Regions from separate parts of the Homo sapiens genome. Here regions 2 and 3 are each linked to region 1. Evidence: promoter capture Hi-C in human tissues and cell types (Jung and others, 2019). All regions are on one chromosome and are shown on one strand. The core of a region is centred on a gene start or on the middle of the fragment in contact, and the rest is flanking DNA. Distances in the headings are between cores, read along the strand shown.

Region 1 (4,839 bases), core at 940-3,439:
AGGCGCCCACCACCACGCCCGGCTAATTTTTGTATTTTTAGTAGAGACAGGGTTTCACCATCTCGGCCAGGCTGGTCTTGAACTCCTGACCTGGTGATCCACCTATCTCGGCCTCTCAAAGTGGTGGGATTACAGGCATGAGCCACCGCCCCCGGCCCGTCAGCAGAATTTTAAAGAAAATCAAGAAATCACATAAGGTTTTGACCTTTTAATAGAAAAGACTGGCGTAGACAGGCAACAGTGGCAGATGCGGCAGAAACACTCTGCAGTTACCTTACACAATTGCTTTACCACATTCCACCTAAGCAGTTGAGGCACAAACTTTATCACCACCATTTTACAGGTTATGAAGAGTGAGTTTTGTAAAGTTGCATGAGTTTTGCCAAACCACTTAAATGAGTTGACAATGAGCCATCCATCCCGCTAAGATTACTAATCTTGTTTACACAAAGAAGATCACAGTTGTGACAAGAAAAAACAAGCTTTCACATTTCAAGTCTGCAATATTAACTTTACAGAATCCTCTCAATTACAAATGCATTCGAAGATGATCTCCTTTTCTTCATAGTTCTGTTAACTAGCATTACAGCTATCCAAGAAGAAATGTCTACCTGTGGGTAAGCACATTTCTTCAATGTTTATTCCAAATGGAGTTTCTGGTTATTTTCACAGCAAACTGTTACGAAACTTATACACAAAGTGCAAAAACAAGAGAATTGTAAGATTGAGATGAGTGCATGAGGTATTATTCCACCAAATATATTCAATCTGTAAAAACTCAAATCATCCTTCCAAAATGATTAACAGATGCTAAAGGAAAAAGGGAAAGCGGGCAAATAAACCAGAGACTCATTGCTTCACTTCTGGGGCAATCGATTACTACTTCAAATTATGAGTGAAGACCAAAATCCTGCACAAAGGGCCGCGACACAACCCCGTCACTATTGCTACTATTTCCATCCAGTTGGTCTCTCGATCTTGGAAGTGGCAGGCCAGAATCTGAGCCCGGCTCTCCCTCCGTGAACTTTACACAGAGGCTGACACCCAAATCCCCAGTTCTCGGACAAGCGAGTAAGTAGTTGGCGGAGCAAAGAACAACTCCAGGTGCCTCCTGCCAGAACAGATGCCAGCGTGGAGGAGGTGCTTTGTTAAATGGCACTTCAATCAGCCCTGGGGAGAACGGGTTACAGAGCCTCACATCCAGCCTCGACGATTCAACAGCCCGGGAGGGCAAAGGTATTCACCGGGGAGGGCGAAGGCTTCCTCTCCCAGGACAGACCCGCGCTTGGGCTGCGGCCTCCGTCTTTATTTTGAAGCCCTACAGGGCTCGTCTCTGCAGCAGGCTCAGAATGAGCTATTTTCGCCCACAGCCAAAATCAGCAACAGCAAATTACACTGCAAACAATGGCGAGGGCGCCTGCTCGGCTCGGCTCGAAACTCCGGAGAGGCAGCGCAAAGATTCTGACTTTTCACTTGGGCAGAGCCCGTCCGCCGCCTCCCCGCGCTCCGGCTGCGCACCGCGCTCGGGTTCCGGCCACACGCCCCGAGGACAGGGAGACAGGGCGGCCGCCGGGACGTTCGGCGGGGAGGGCACCGTCACACCCAGGGCGAGACCCCGGAGACCTGGAGACGCGGGGCCGCGGGTGGCCGGGTGGCGGGATTCCCTCGCGGAGCGGCGGGCGCTCCCTGGCGGGGAGGACAGCAGAGCGCGGGCCGTCGGGGAACCGGGCGTCCCGCATAGCGCGCGGGGACCTGGGCGCCGTGAGGGGCAGGCGGACCTGGGATCCCAGAACCGCAGCCTGGGCTCCGACGCCCCCGACGCCCACCCTTTTAGCTCGGAGGATCGGGGAGGCACGGACCTCCGGCGGCAGCGGAGGGCGGCGGCGAAACGCCGGGGGCGCGTGGGTTAGCACTGAGCCGCCGCCCCAGCCCGCCTCGCCCCCGGGCCCGCGCGCACCCGCCGCCCCCCAGCCCGCTGCGCTCACCCGGCTCTTGCAGCGGTGGTGCCGGCCGGGGTACGAGTAGGTCCGGTCCACGGTGAGCGCCGTGTCGCTGCCCGGCATCTCCGCGCTCCGGCCGCGAACTTTCCCGTCTTCTGGGGCTGCCGCGCCGCGAGCCACCGGCTGTGCTCGGGATCACCCTGGGAGCCGCGGGCGAGGGGGCGGCGCGGCTGCTGCAGCTGTTGCCTCTGGTGCCAACACCCGCGCGGCCGCCCTGCGCCGCCGCCGCCGCGGGGTGGGGGAGGCGGGGCAGGAGGCGAGAGTCTCCTCCCCCTTCCCTTCTCCCCGCCTCTCCCGCGCCCCGCAGCCGCCTGGACCCCCCACCCACCCCCGACCCGGGAGGCAATGTCTTCGCCTCCCTCCCTGGCTGAAAGTTGATTCCATCCCCTCCCACACAGCCCTCTTTCTCCCCAAAAGATAAGCGACATCCACACTACACTATCTGTTGACTTATTTTATATATAAAAGGTGACTGTTACTGCAAGAAGTTGACACTTGCCTTAAATGCCTCTTTTTATGTTATTCTCCATTCAACAGGCACTTACTGGGCAGCTGCCATGTACCAGACGCTGGACTAGAGACCAGAGATTTAAAGTAAAAAAATGAAATAAAATAAAAACTCCCCCCGACCATGATTGCCCTGAGCATAGAGCATACTTCCACTTAAACTAAGATCCTACTGTGTTGTGTATTTTAATTTTGCATATCTGGCTCACCTTTATGTTTCTTTCTTTTTTTTTTTTTTTTGAGACTGAGTCTCGCTCTGTCACCCAGGCTGGAGTGCAGTGGCGCAATCTCGGCTCACTGCAAGCTCCGCCTCCCGGGTTCACGCCATTCTCCTGCCTCAGCCTCCCAAGTAGCTGGGACTACAGGCGCCTGCCACCACACCCAGCTAAATTTTTTTGTATTTTTAGTAGAGACGGGATTTCACCATGTTAGCCAGGATGGTCTCGATCTCCCGACCTCGTGATCCACCTGCCCTAGCCTCCCAAAGTGCTGGGATTACAGGCGTGAGCCACTGTGCCCAGCTTACCTTTATGTTTTAAGCTACTTGGAAGTCAGGATATCTTTTCATTTTAGTATTCCCCATTCCCAGTCATCAGTCCCTGCCCACAAGGAATTTGGAGTTTAGAAGAGGAAGGACCATTGGTGAACAATTTAAATATCAGTAACCCCAAACAAAATTCAAAACACCTGTTCTGGCTCTGTAGGGTGTACAGTGGGAGACTGGGCTGAAATATTTAAAGTGCAGCTGTTCCAGAGAGGACCTGGAGCCCAGTGTGACCAGTCCAGGGGGAGGGAAGGATTTCCCTCATAGGGTTCAAAGGGGACGGTAGAGCAGGCTGAAGAAAACTTTGGAGCCCCTAAAATCAGAGGTACATTTGGGAAAACCTCAAGTCATCAGTTTTGGGGAGTGTCCTCAGGAACAGGAAGACATGATGGAAAAGAAGGCAGAGACCATGCAGAATCTTCGTTCAAGGGTAAGAAGTTCAGCCTTATTCTGTGGGAACTGGGTAGCTGTTGGAAATTCTTGAACAGGGAAATGATAGCATGGGAATGGAAGTTTAAGGAGAAGGTATATCTGACATCAGGGTGAAGCAGCGATTGAAGATGGGCAAAACACACTGGCTTCTTAGAAGGCCACTGTAAAGACAGAATAGCCTAATTATCCTTCAGAAGGAGACTAAGTAAATAAATGATGGTACATCATCCAATAGAATATTAGGTAACTGGAATAGAAATGAGGCAGCCCTCTATGAATAGCTTTGGAAGCAAATCTAACATACATGGTTCAGTGGAAAAAAAGCAATGTGCAGGATAATATATATGGCATTCCACCATTTATGTAAAAACAATATATGTTATGTGCTTCTACATGCACGACATATATCTGGGAGGATAAATAAGAAACTAGGGAAACAGACAAGAAATTGATGCCAAGAGAGGGGAACCAGGTAGCTAGAAGGCAGAGATGGAGAGAGATCTAATTTTCACTGTGTATACTTTTGAAACTTGAATGTTTATACTGTGGGCATATATTAACTATTCAGAAAGTAAAATTTTTTAAAAAATGTTTTTTAGAGATAGGGTATCTGTTGCCCAGGCTGGGGTGCAGTGGCACAATCATAGCTCACTGCAGCCTCAAATTCTTGGTCTCAAGGGATCCTCCCACTTCAGTTTCCCAAGTAGCTAGAACTACAGGTGTGTGCCACCATTTCTGGCTAATTTTAAAAATATATTTTTTTGTAGAGAAAGGGTTAAAACTAACTTAAGAAGAAATTGAAAGTCCCATGTAGTCCTTAAGCCATTCAAAAAATTAAATCAACACTTTTAAAAATACCCATCTACCACTACCCCAACACACAACTATACTAGACCCAGAGAGTTTTTCAGGTAAGTTCTTTGAAAGAAGAGAAATACCAAACGCTGGGGTGTGTGTGTGTGTGTGTGTGTGTGTGTGTGTGTGTTGGAGGGAGATTTTAGCTAGGGTGGCTAGAGAAGTCCTCCATGATAAGGTGACCTTGAGCAGAGACTTGGGAAATGAGGAAGCCAGAAGTATAGACATTGAAAATTTCCAGCAGACAAACAGAAAGTCAAGGGCCCTGAACATTTCGGGAGTGTTCAAGGAAGAGCAAGGAGGCCAGTGTTCACTGGAAAGAGATGAGGTCAGAGACATTTCAGAGGGCCAGATCATATATGGACTTTCATTCTATTTTAAGAACTTTAATTTTAGGCAGGGCGTGGTGGCTCACGCCTGTAATCCCAGCACTTCAGGAGGCTGAGGTGGGCCGATCACCTGAGGTCAGCAGTTCAAGATCAGCCTGACCAACATGGAGAA
Region 2 (4,839 bases), core at 1,134-3,633, 220 kb after region 1:
TGCGGCCTCCAAGAGAACAAGGCTTTTGTATGTCATGTTCCTCACAGTATTCCTAGAGCTCAGAACAGCGCCTGCACATAGTAGGTGCTTAATACACGTCTTATGGAGGTGGGGGCTGAGTATTTAAAATGCAGATTGCCAAGCTCCAGTTTCAGAGATTCTAACTCATTAGGTTTGAAACAAAGCCTAGGAATCTGCATTTGCAGCAAGCATCCACCTCTTTCATCCTAAGGCAGGTAGTAGGCAGATCACATGTTAAGATACTCTGGTCAATGCCCTCCATCTCCAAATCGTGATTCTCCCTCTAACACGCATTTCTACGGATCCCATCCAGGCTCTTTTCTTTAATTACCCTGAGGCACTGAGAGTAAAAGGAGGTTGCTGACCCCTGAATTTGGAGTTCAAACAAGTAACCTCACCACGGCCAGTTTCCATTTCTGCTGCATGCCAAACTAGCTGGCCAGCCTGGCTGGAATCCTGTTCTCCCCAGAAACACCTGAGCAGGTCTGGACTAGCTCCAAAAGTATAAGCCAGGTAAATTTCCGTGTCAGCTCATTGAGAGACTTTCCAGGGGCAGCTGGGGCCAATTCACATTTGCTCTATACTCCCTCCAAAGACACCCCCTTCAACACACACACACAGAACACTTAATTCTGGTACCACCAGCCAAAAGGGGCCCGAGTTCCCTTGGGAGCAGCCCAGCCGCTGAGAGGCGGAAATCTCTGAAAGGGCCACTCAGATGACCAAAGCAATAGGCGCCTACGTACCTTACAACAAGCCAACCTCAAGTTCCAACCTAGAGAAATGCATGGACTCTGGTGGGAGAGTCTTATTCCGTTTTTGTTTTCTTCTTTTTTTTTGTTTTGTTTTGTTTTGGTTTGGTTTTCTTCCATTTCTTCTCAGCCTTGTCTCTTCAGAAAATACCCCTCCACCCCTTCCTTGGCGCGTAAACTGTCTTCAGGGTGGCCTTAGGAGTTCTGGGACAATGTGGAGGGTACCCAATAGGATTTCCTTAAGTTTCCTCTACTGCTTTTCCACACATATTAATGCTGAGATCCTGTATTTGATTAAAGCACCTTCCATTTCCAAAGTTAAAATACAAACGGGTCTGGTAACTTACAAAGTCGCCAGCATCTTCGTGTCAATTAACTTCCCCAGACAAGTAAGAACGAGCTGCACTAGGGCCTGCGCTCTCTCCGGGGCTAACAACAAGCAGCACCAGTCCCCCAAGCTGTCCCTGGAGGTGGAAGAGCCACTGCAGCTGAGCCTGTTTATTTTTCGTTTTTCCACAGGCAGCCTTGGCTGGAGGGTGGGGGTGAGCGCGGGCTCCCTGGCACCTGCCGGTAAAGCAGCAGCCGCAGCCCCCGAGGGCGCCCCAGGCCAGGAGCTGCGCGCCGTCGGCGGGCCGTGCCTGGAGGAGGCTCGCGCCTTCCAAATGCCGGAGTGCAGGCATCCTTCCTCTCCCCAACCCCAGCCCCGGCCTCGACCTGTCGCCCACCTGGCCCGGACCTGGGGCTGGCTCCGTCTCTGGGGTGTGCGCCAAGGGAGCCCCACCGACGCCCAGCAGAGCTGCCCGGGCTCCCAAAGAAGGACCGGGGCTTTGGGCAGAATTCTGGCAGCCAGGCGGGCGTCAGGGGAGCCGGAGAAGGGGCTCGCCAGCAGGCGTGGGGCGGAGTGCCGGGCGCAGCCCACCTCGCAAGCGCGGGCCCAGGGCTCCGACGTGCCAGCGCAGCCCCGAAGAGTGCGGGCCCGGGGTCCCCGCGGCGCCCCTTCCCCTCCTCAGTCCCCCGGGGGCGACCGCGCTCCCCGCCGAGGTCCGTCCCCGCCGCACCCTCACTATTCCCGCTGGGAGGACCCCGGCGCACGCCCCCGCCCCCGCACCCCGGGGCGACGGCGCACTCACCCTCCGCATGGTGTCTGGGCCGTCCGGGCGGGGCTCGGCGACTTGGGCGCGAGAAGGGCTGGGCCGGCGGCGACGCTCGGCCGGCCGGGAGCTCCGCGCTGCCCCCTCCTGCACACGCCTGCGCCGCGGCCGCCAAGCCGGCGGGGGCGGGGCGGGGTAGCGCTGGCCGCGGGGTCCCCGGGGCTCTCCCGGGCTGCGGCGGAGGCGCGGAGCCGGCCAAGGGCGCACTGAGCTCGCGGAGCTCCGGGGCCCCGGGGCCTTTCTGCCGCCGTCGCAGCGTCCCCGCCTCCTCGGGCCGCTTCGCCCCTCTCCTCTTCCTCGAGTTCTGGCCCCACCAGGAGCGGAGCGAGTCTCCGATGCCTGCCCCGCGGCCCCCAGAACTGAGCTGGAGAAGCTTTGGGGTGAAAGCTGGGCCCACCCTACAGGGACCCCAAGTTTGCGGAGCAAGAGTGGATTGGCGGAGAGCGCAGATGGCAATTCTCACCCGCCTTAAAAGTACCACCTTAAAATTCTCCCCATGGGATGGGAAGGTGGCCCGCTAATGTCCGTTCCTACTCTTCGTTTTCTTTTTAATTTTTCAGACAGGGTCTCGCTCTGTCCCCCAGGCTGAGCGCAGGGGCGCGATTTCGGCTCACTGCAGCCTTGCGATTCTCCCAGGCTCAAGCGATCCTCCCGCCTCAGCCTTCCCAGTAGCTGGGACCACAGGCGAGTGCTCCACTACGCCCGGCTAATTTTTGTATTTTTATTCTTTTGTAGAGACTGGTGTCTCGCCATTTTGCCCAGGCTGGTCTCGAACTCCTGGCCTCAAGCGACCCTCCAGCCTCGGCCTCCCAAAGTGCTGGGATGAGAGGTGTGAGCCAGTGCGTCGGCCCTTTACCATTCTTTAGATTCTGCGATTGTTTTTTGAAAGTCCTGAGCATTCATAAAGCTTTCCGAGGAGGGGTGGGAAGAGAGTTAAGAGCGGTAAACAGCAGATCCACCCGGGGCTGGAGGAAACACCGTGGAACAGAGACCGTCTGGTCTCATTCAGGTGAAGGAGCTCGGCAGGGGAAGAGGTCAGCATCCCCATTCCAGCGAAACCCACGGGTTTTCCTAGCAGTCCCCTGTGTGCACAGCTTTCTCTTCACAATCGACCTCCACCCCAACTTTTCCAAACAACACGGGAGCCCATCCCCAAATGCTAATGCTTCTGCGGGAAAAAAATGAGAAGGGGGAAAAATGTATTCCCCAGATCATGAAAACGCTGCACACCCTTGAGCTCAGAATGCAGGATCTAAATCCGCAAGAACAGGATGGAATGATGTGGGAAGGTCTTCCAGGAAGAAATCTGATTTTATTCTGCTTCGACTGCTGAACAAAGTAAATCAAATAGCACGGAACTCAAGGCAGCCTGAATTTTGTGTAGAAAAAAATATCTCTTGTTTGTCAGAGGATCCTTTGAAAAGCATCCAAGGACGCTTGTGTTTCCAAAGCGGCTGTGACAGGTATGCAGGCAGACAGCAGTGGGAATGCAAAGGCTTGTGCCGGGTAAACACTTCTCATGAGTGTTTCAGCTTTGGCATTGCCTTTATGCCAGTTATTCTGGCAGATCACCACTGCCAAAGAAATACCTTTATAATTTTCTAACATTGATTGTCAGCAGCACTATAGAGACCGTAATATTACACGAAGTACCTTAATGATCTAATGAATAAAAACATTTTGTCTGGATTTCTCTTTGGTGCCTATCAGCACAGATAGGGGGAGGAGTGACTGATGTGTGAGGGGGAAATGTAAGAAACGACAATTAATGACACTTGCTATGTCCCTTTTTTACTTTATCTTATGATCTGTATGCAGTGGGTTTTTTCCTCCCTGGATATATAATCTCTTCTGATTGAGCTTTTATGTTTTTGCCTTTCTTTGGGAAAATAACAATGTTAGTAAGTGTACTTCTGAGCCATACCTGTCTTATCATTTCAATCCACACAACTCTATGAAGTACGTACTGGGATATTATGGTTTTTTTAGAGGGAGATACTCGAGCTCAGAGAGGGCAGGTCATTTGCCCGAGATCATACAGCTTGTTAGTGGCACAGCCTGGATTTCAACTCAGGCAGTCTGACACGAGGACCCTCTCACTTAATGCCCATGCAATACTGCCCTCCTCTGCTTCATAGAAAAGGTGCAACTGTGTAAAGGTGTTCCTGGAAGTAAAAACGTGAGCTTTTGTCATAGATTAGTCACTTGACATCTCAGAGCCTTAGCTTCCTCATCAGTAAAATGACAACTTGGACTAAATAGATGCATTAAAGGCCTAGCCAGAAGTAAAGTTCAAGATTTAGAGTATTACTATGTGAGTATTAGAGTATCAGTATTCTTGCTCAGCATTGTAAGAAATCTTAACCTGGAGATACAGTGTTAGCCACTTCATTGGTTTGTGTGATCTCACCACAGCGCCTTGTTTTAACACTACTTGTGCTGCTTTCTACAACATTACCTCTTCCTGCTCCTTCTAATTAATACTCTTTGCTTTGCAAATGTGATATCTAATCAATTTAATGTTCTTTTTTTTTTTTTCTTTTCTTTGAGACGGAGTCTTGCTCTGTCGTGCCCAGTCTGGAGTGCAGTGGCGCGATCTCGGCTCACTGCTACTTCTGCCTCCTGGGTTTGAGCAATTCTCCCACTTCAGTCTCCCAAGTAGCTGGGACTACAGGCACCCACCACCACACCCAGCTAATTTTTTATATTTTTAGTAGAGGCAGGATTTTACCATATTGGCCAGGCTGGTCTTGAACTTCCAACGTCAGGTGATCCACCTACCTCGGCCTCCCAAAGTGTTGGAATTACAGACGTGAGCCACCGAGCCCGTCCTAATGTTCATTTCTTACTAAACTTGAATAAGACTCCTGGTGTGGGGGAGGGGAGTCAGTTTCAGTTAAGTAGTTGTTAGGATG
Region 3 (4,839 bases), core at 1,393-3,892, 200 kb before region 1:
TTGGCATTCACATTTTTAAAAAATGAACTTAGATCCTCTTCTTACATCAAATGCACGGTTAATTCAATATGAATCTTATATTTAAAGGAAAGAGCTCAAAGAAGACCTTTGGGAGCTCAAAGAAAAATCTTTGGGACCTTGGATTAGGCAAAAAGTTCGTATACATAACATGAAAGTACGTGCCACACACACAAAAGAAATGACTTCATTAAAAACTTTTGCACTTCAAAAGACAACAGTAAAAATATGAAAAGCCAAGACACCAACTGGGAGAAATATTTGCAAATCTTATCTCTGATATTAAAAACAATACAAACTTTCATCCAGCATATATAAAGAACTCTTACAACTCAGTAAGACCAAAAAAAAAAAAAAAAAAACCCAGCTAAAAAATGGGCAAATGCCTTAAACAGATATTCCACCAAATGGCCAATAACCACAGAAAAAGGTGTCCAACATTACTGTGCAGGGAAATGCAAATTAAAATTACAATGGGATACTACTAGATACTAACTAGAATGGCTATAATTAAAAAGATAATACCAACTGTTGGTGAGGATGTGGAGAAACTGGAATCATCATACATTGCTGGTAGGATGTAATTGGTACAGCTACTTTGGAAAACATTTTGACAGTTTCTTTAAAAGTTAAAAATAAGCTTACCATATAATTCAACAATTCCACTCCTAGGAATTTACCCAAAACAAATGAATACATATGCTCACACAAGGAATTACAGACAAATCTTCATAGCAGCATTATTCATAACAGCCAAAAACTGGAAACCATCCAATGTCTATCACCTAGTGAATGGGAAATACTATTCACTGGTTACCAGTAAATGGGAAATACTATTCACCAATACTATTCAACTGGTGAATGGAAAATACACACGAATACTATGCAACAATTAAAAAGAACAAAACATTGATATACATACATTAAATAAACCTCAAAAGCATGAAGTTAAAGAAGCCAGATGCAAAAGACTACTGTATTGATTCCATTTATATGAAATATGTAGAAAAGACAAATTTATAGTGATAGAAAGTAGATCAGTGGTTCTCTGGGGCTGTGGGAAGGAGTTACCTTAAATGCAAATAAGCTTGAGAGAATCTAGGAGACTGATAAAATGTCAGAAATTGCCTTGTGATGACAGTCGCACAACTCTATAAAGTTGCTAAAAACCATTAAATTGTACACTTACAATGAGTGGTTTTTATGGTAGGTAAAATATATCTCAATAAAGCTGTTTAAAAAGGGCTAGGTAGAAGAAAGAAGTTATCTCTTCCAAACTTTGGAAAATTTGTTGATAGTTGTAGTAATCAAGGCTGAGTTCAAAGGATGACCAAGCAAAAAGAATCCAGGTTCTTAAAGATTATCACTAAGCCACTTAATTGACAATCTTAGAACCACCTATCTCCAGACTTCTTACATGTGAGATAATACAATTTCCTTCTTAAGGCTTTAAAAAAGAAAAAGAAAAAAGAATAACGTTGCTAATTCTAAGGGACACAGGACATGTTCATTCCATTACAGAAAATTTGTAATATCATCCATAGAGGAAGATATCAAAGAAAAGGCAGGAATTTTGGTGGATCTTGAAGGATGAAAGAATATGACGGGGGATGGGGAAGGAAAAGAAGGGTATGTAGTTCAGAAGAGTCATTAATAATGGCAAGGATAAAAATCAACAATGCCCACTAAAAGTCAAGTTTACAGCTTACCTTATTTTAATCCATACATTAAGGACCAAAAAATTAAGTAACTGGTTCAAAAAGTTACGCAGCTAGTAATCTAACCTTCACTCTCAGGATCCAGGCTCCAAAGTACATACTCTTTCCTCTGTTACGCTGCTAAACAAGGACTTAAACTACCCCCATTTGCAAGTTCAGATCTTTGTAGAGGGCATCTTTATTTAGATAGGTTTACATTTATAGGACTACACACTCAATGTTTCTTGAGCAACAATTTCCATTTAATCAATAAACTAAATGTGATGTGCATTCTTTCTTTGGTTTCCAAAACGTTACCCTACTCTGGTTTTCCTACCTTCTTTCTCCCCCTTCCTATTACATGCTGGTGTTCACAAGCTCTCTTCTGATTCTACACAACTCTCACTAGGAACCTCATCTATACCTGGTATTTCAACTACCACTAACGTTGATGACTCTTCTCTCTCTCCAACTTCAAGAATTGTTTTCCTAGTTTTCTTTGACTAACTTCCTCCGGGCCAAGTTGAATACTGCTCTGTACACCCTACAACTACACTTACAAGATTCTAAAGAGACATTCCTCAATTTTTGTGTATTCTTTCTAGTTCTAGGCCAGGTATTCTTCCTACATGCCCCAAAACACATTCTTATCTATCCTTATAGCATTTAACATGCTTTATTACAAATTACTAATTACTTTGTCCATTTCTCCCATCAGAGAATAAGGTGCTTGAGACTTAGCACTATGTCTTATTCACAATCTCCCCAGTGCCTAGCATAGCATGAGACACATAATAGGCACTCAAATATTGATTAAACCCATATATAAGAGAAATAAAATTTGCTTTAAATTGGAAGCATACCATTTCTGAAGGAAACTTTCAGAGATTTATGTTTTCAAATGAGAAAATAGGCCATGAAAGGTGAAGTGACTCACCCAGTCAAGCCTTGGTCTCCTGAATCACAATTCTCTTCCCACAAAATTACAGTGCCTAGGCCGGGCGCAGTGGCTCACACCTGTAATCCCAGCACTTTGGGAGGCCAAGGCAGGTGGGTCATAAGGTCAGGAGATCAAGACCATCCTGGCTAACATAGTGAAATTCCGTCTCTCTTAAAAATCAAAAAATTAGCTGGGCATGGTTGCATGTGCCTGTAGTCCCAGCTACTTGGGAGGCTAAGGCAGGAGAATCGCTTGAACCCAGGAGGCAGAGGTTGCAGTGAGCTGAGATCACACCACTGCACTCTAGCCTGCTGACAGAGTAAGACTATGTCTCAAAAAAAAAAAAAAAAATTAGAGTACCTATTAAATTGTGCTTAGTGATCTCAGCTTTCTATGAAGCTCTAGAAGTAATACAAAAATGTTATAAAGAACCATTTCAACTTCATCCACTCCAGCTCTGGCTGGCTATATCAGTTGTAGAGAAGTCTGTTATTACATAATACTTTTTCTGCCCAGAATAATCTTTAATTGAACCAGTATTTTCACGTGTCCTTCACACAAAAAATAATTCAATACATACTTATTGAGACATGAAGCCAGCTGGGATTCTGGGTCCGGTGTGGACTTGGAGAACTTTTCTGTCTAGCTAAAGGATTGCAAATGCACCAATCAGCGCTCTGTGTCTAACTAAAGGTTTGTAAACGCACCAATCAGCACTCTGTAAAAACGGACCAATCAGCACTCTGTAAAATGGACCAATCAGCTCTCTGTAAAATGGACCAATTAGCAGGATGTGGGTGGGGCCAAATAAGGGAAGAAGAGCTAGGCACCTGAGCCAGCAGCAGCAACCCACACGGGTCCCCTTCCATGCCGTGGAAGCTCTGTTCTTTTGCTCTTCGCAATAAATCTTGCTGCTGCTCACTCTTTGGGTCCACACTGCCTTTATGAGCTGTAACACTCACCACGAAGGTCCGCAGCTTCACTCCTGAAGCCAGCGAGACCACGAACCCACCGGGAGGAATGAACAATGCCGGACGCGCCACCTTTAAGAGCTGTAACACTCACTGCGAAAGTCTGCAGCTTCACTCCTGAAGCCAGCAATACCACGAACCCACCGGGAGGAATGAACAACTCCGGACGCGCCACCTTTAAGAGCTGTAGCACTCACTGCAAAAGTCTGCAGCCTCACTCCTGAAGTCAGCAAGACCATGAACCCACCAGAAGGAAGAAACTCCGGACACATCTGAACATCTGAAGGAACAAACTCCGGACACACCATCTTTAAGAACTGCAACATTCACCACGAGGGTCCGCAGCTTCATTCTTGAAGTCAGCGAGACCAAGAACCCACCAGAATGAACCAATTCCGGACACATTATCATGCATCTCTATGTGGAAAACAATGTGAAAGAAGTTATAATTCATCAGTACTCTAAAAAATATCCTTAAGAGCATATATTGCATGCCCCTTAAGTTTAACAATATCTGAAATAGCTGCCTTAAAACAAAATGCAATCACACTTGAGAGAGGCTGAATATGAACATCAGAGATAGGCAATGCAACTTCATCAGGAAAATCCCTATAGTCCAATGCTACTGTTTTCAAGGGTTGCTATATTATACTGCAATTGTGTTACTGGGCAACAACTCAGAAGCTAGAATGGCAAATTCACTCAAGAAGTAACTGAATCAAACGAATATTTATGAAAGCATTCTGAGACTCAACTTCACTTTCTATATCTTCAACTGAAGTAACTCTTTGTTATAAGCATTAGATACAGGATTTTTGGTGAGACTGTAAAAACTACATGGACATTTTATAGACATATTTTGAGACAGAAGATAGGTGCTTTCCAAAAGGGAATGGCCAGGTTTAGGTTCCTACTAACTCTGAATTTTAATCCAAAAGCAATCTGAAGTCACAATATACAGAAGGCAAATAACTGGGCATTTCCTTAATTTCTTCCATCCTGGATTATAGCTCAGTTAAAAGAAATAGTAGGCCGGGCGCATTGGCTCACACCTACAATCCCAGCACTTTGGGAGGCCAAGGTGGGTGAATCACTTGAGGCCAGGAGTTCCGAGACCAGCCTGGCCAATGTGGTGAAACCCTGTCTCTATTCAAAATACAAAAAAAAAGCCAGGTGTGGTGGCATGCACCTGTTAGCCCCAGCCACTTGGGAG

The links. Contacts are between HindIII fragments. The study calls those that stand out against the background at their distance.
Region 2: a fragment that was not itself captured here is called in contact with the fragment with the promoter of TMCC3 in region 1 in 1 of the 25 tissues and cell types used here (aorta).
Region 3: a contact is called between a fragment that was not itself captured here and the fragment with the promoter of TMCC3 in region 1, in 1 of the 25 tissues and cell types used here (bladder).

The regions. Positions count from the first base shown.
Region 1 is chr12:94,648,368-94,653,206 of GRCh38, forward strand. TMCC3 (transmembrane and coiled-coil domain family 3) reads right to left here and starts at 2,190. Exons shown (of 4, transcript NM_020698.4): 1 at 1,986-2,190. The coding sequence starts at 2,063. It overlaps LOC105369914 (a long non-coding RNA gene), which reads left to right. Exons shown (of 2, transcript XR_945225.4): 1 at 1-1,236; 2 at 2,538-2,635. RefSeq lists silencers at 1,434-1,563, 1,654-2,123, 2,144-2,313 and an enhancer at 1,642-2,357. The HindIII fragment of the contact is 17,613 bases long and covers 1-4,839 here.
Region 2 is chr12:94,871,737-94,876,575 of GRCh38, forward strand. No RefSeq gene overlaps it. Among named protein-coding and RNA genes, the nearest start is that of MIR492, 40 kb to the left of the region's middle. RefSeq lists silencers at 1,399-1,518, 1,579-2,188, 2,199-2,298. The HindIII fragment of the contact is 3,754 bases long and covers 507-4,260 here.
Region 3 is chr12:94,451,107-94,455,945 of GRCh38, forward strand. All of the region lies in intron 1 of CEP83 (centrosomal protein 83), which reads right to left. Among named protein-coding and RNA genes, the nearest start is that of CEP83, 6.3 kb to the right of the region's middle. RefSeq lists a silencer at 4,689-4,838. The HindIII fragment of the contact is 6,878 bases long and covers 1-4,839 here.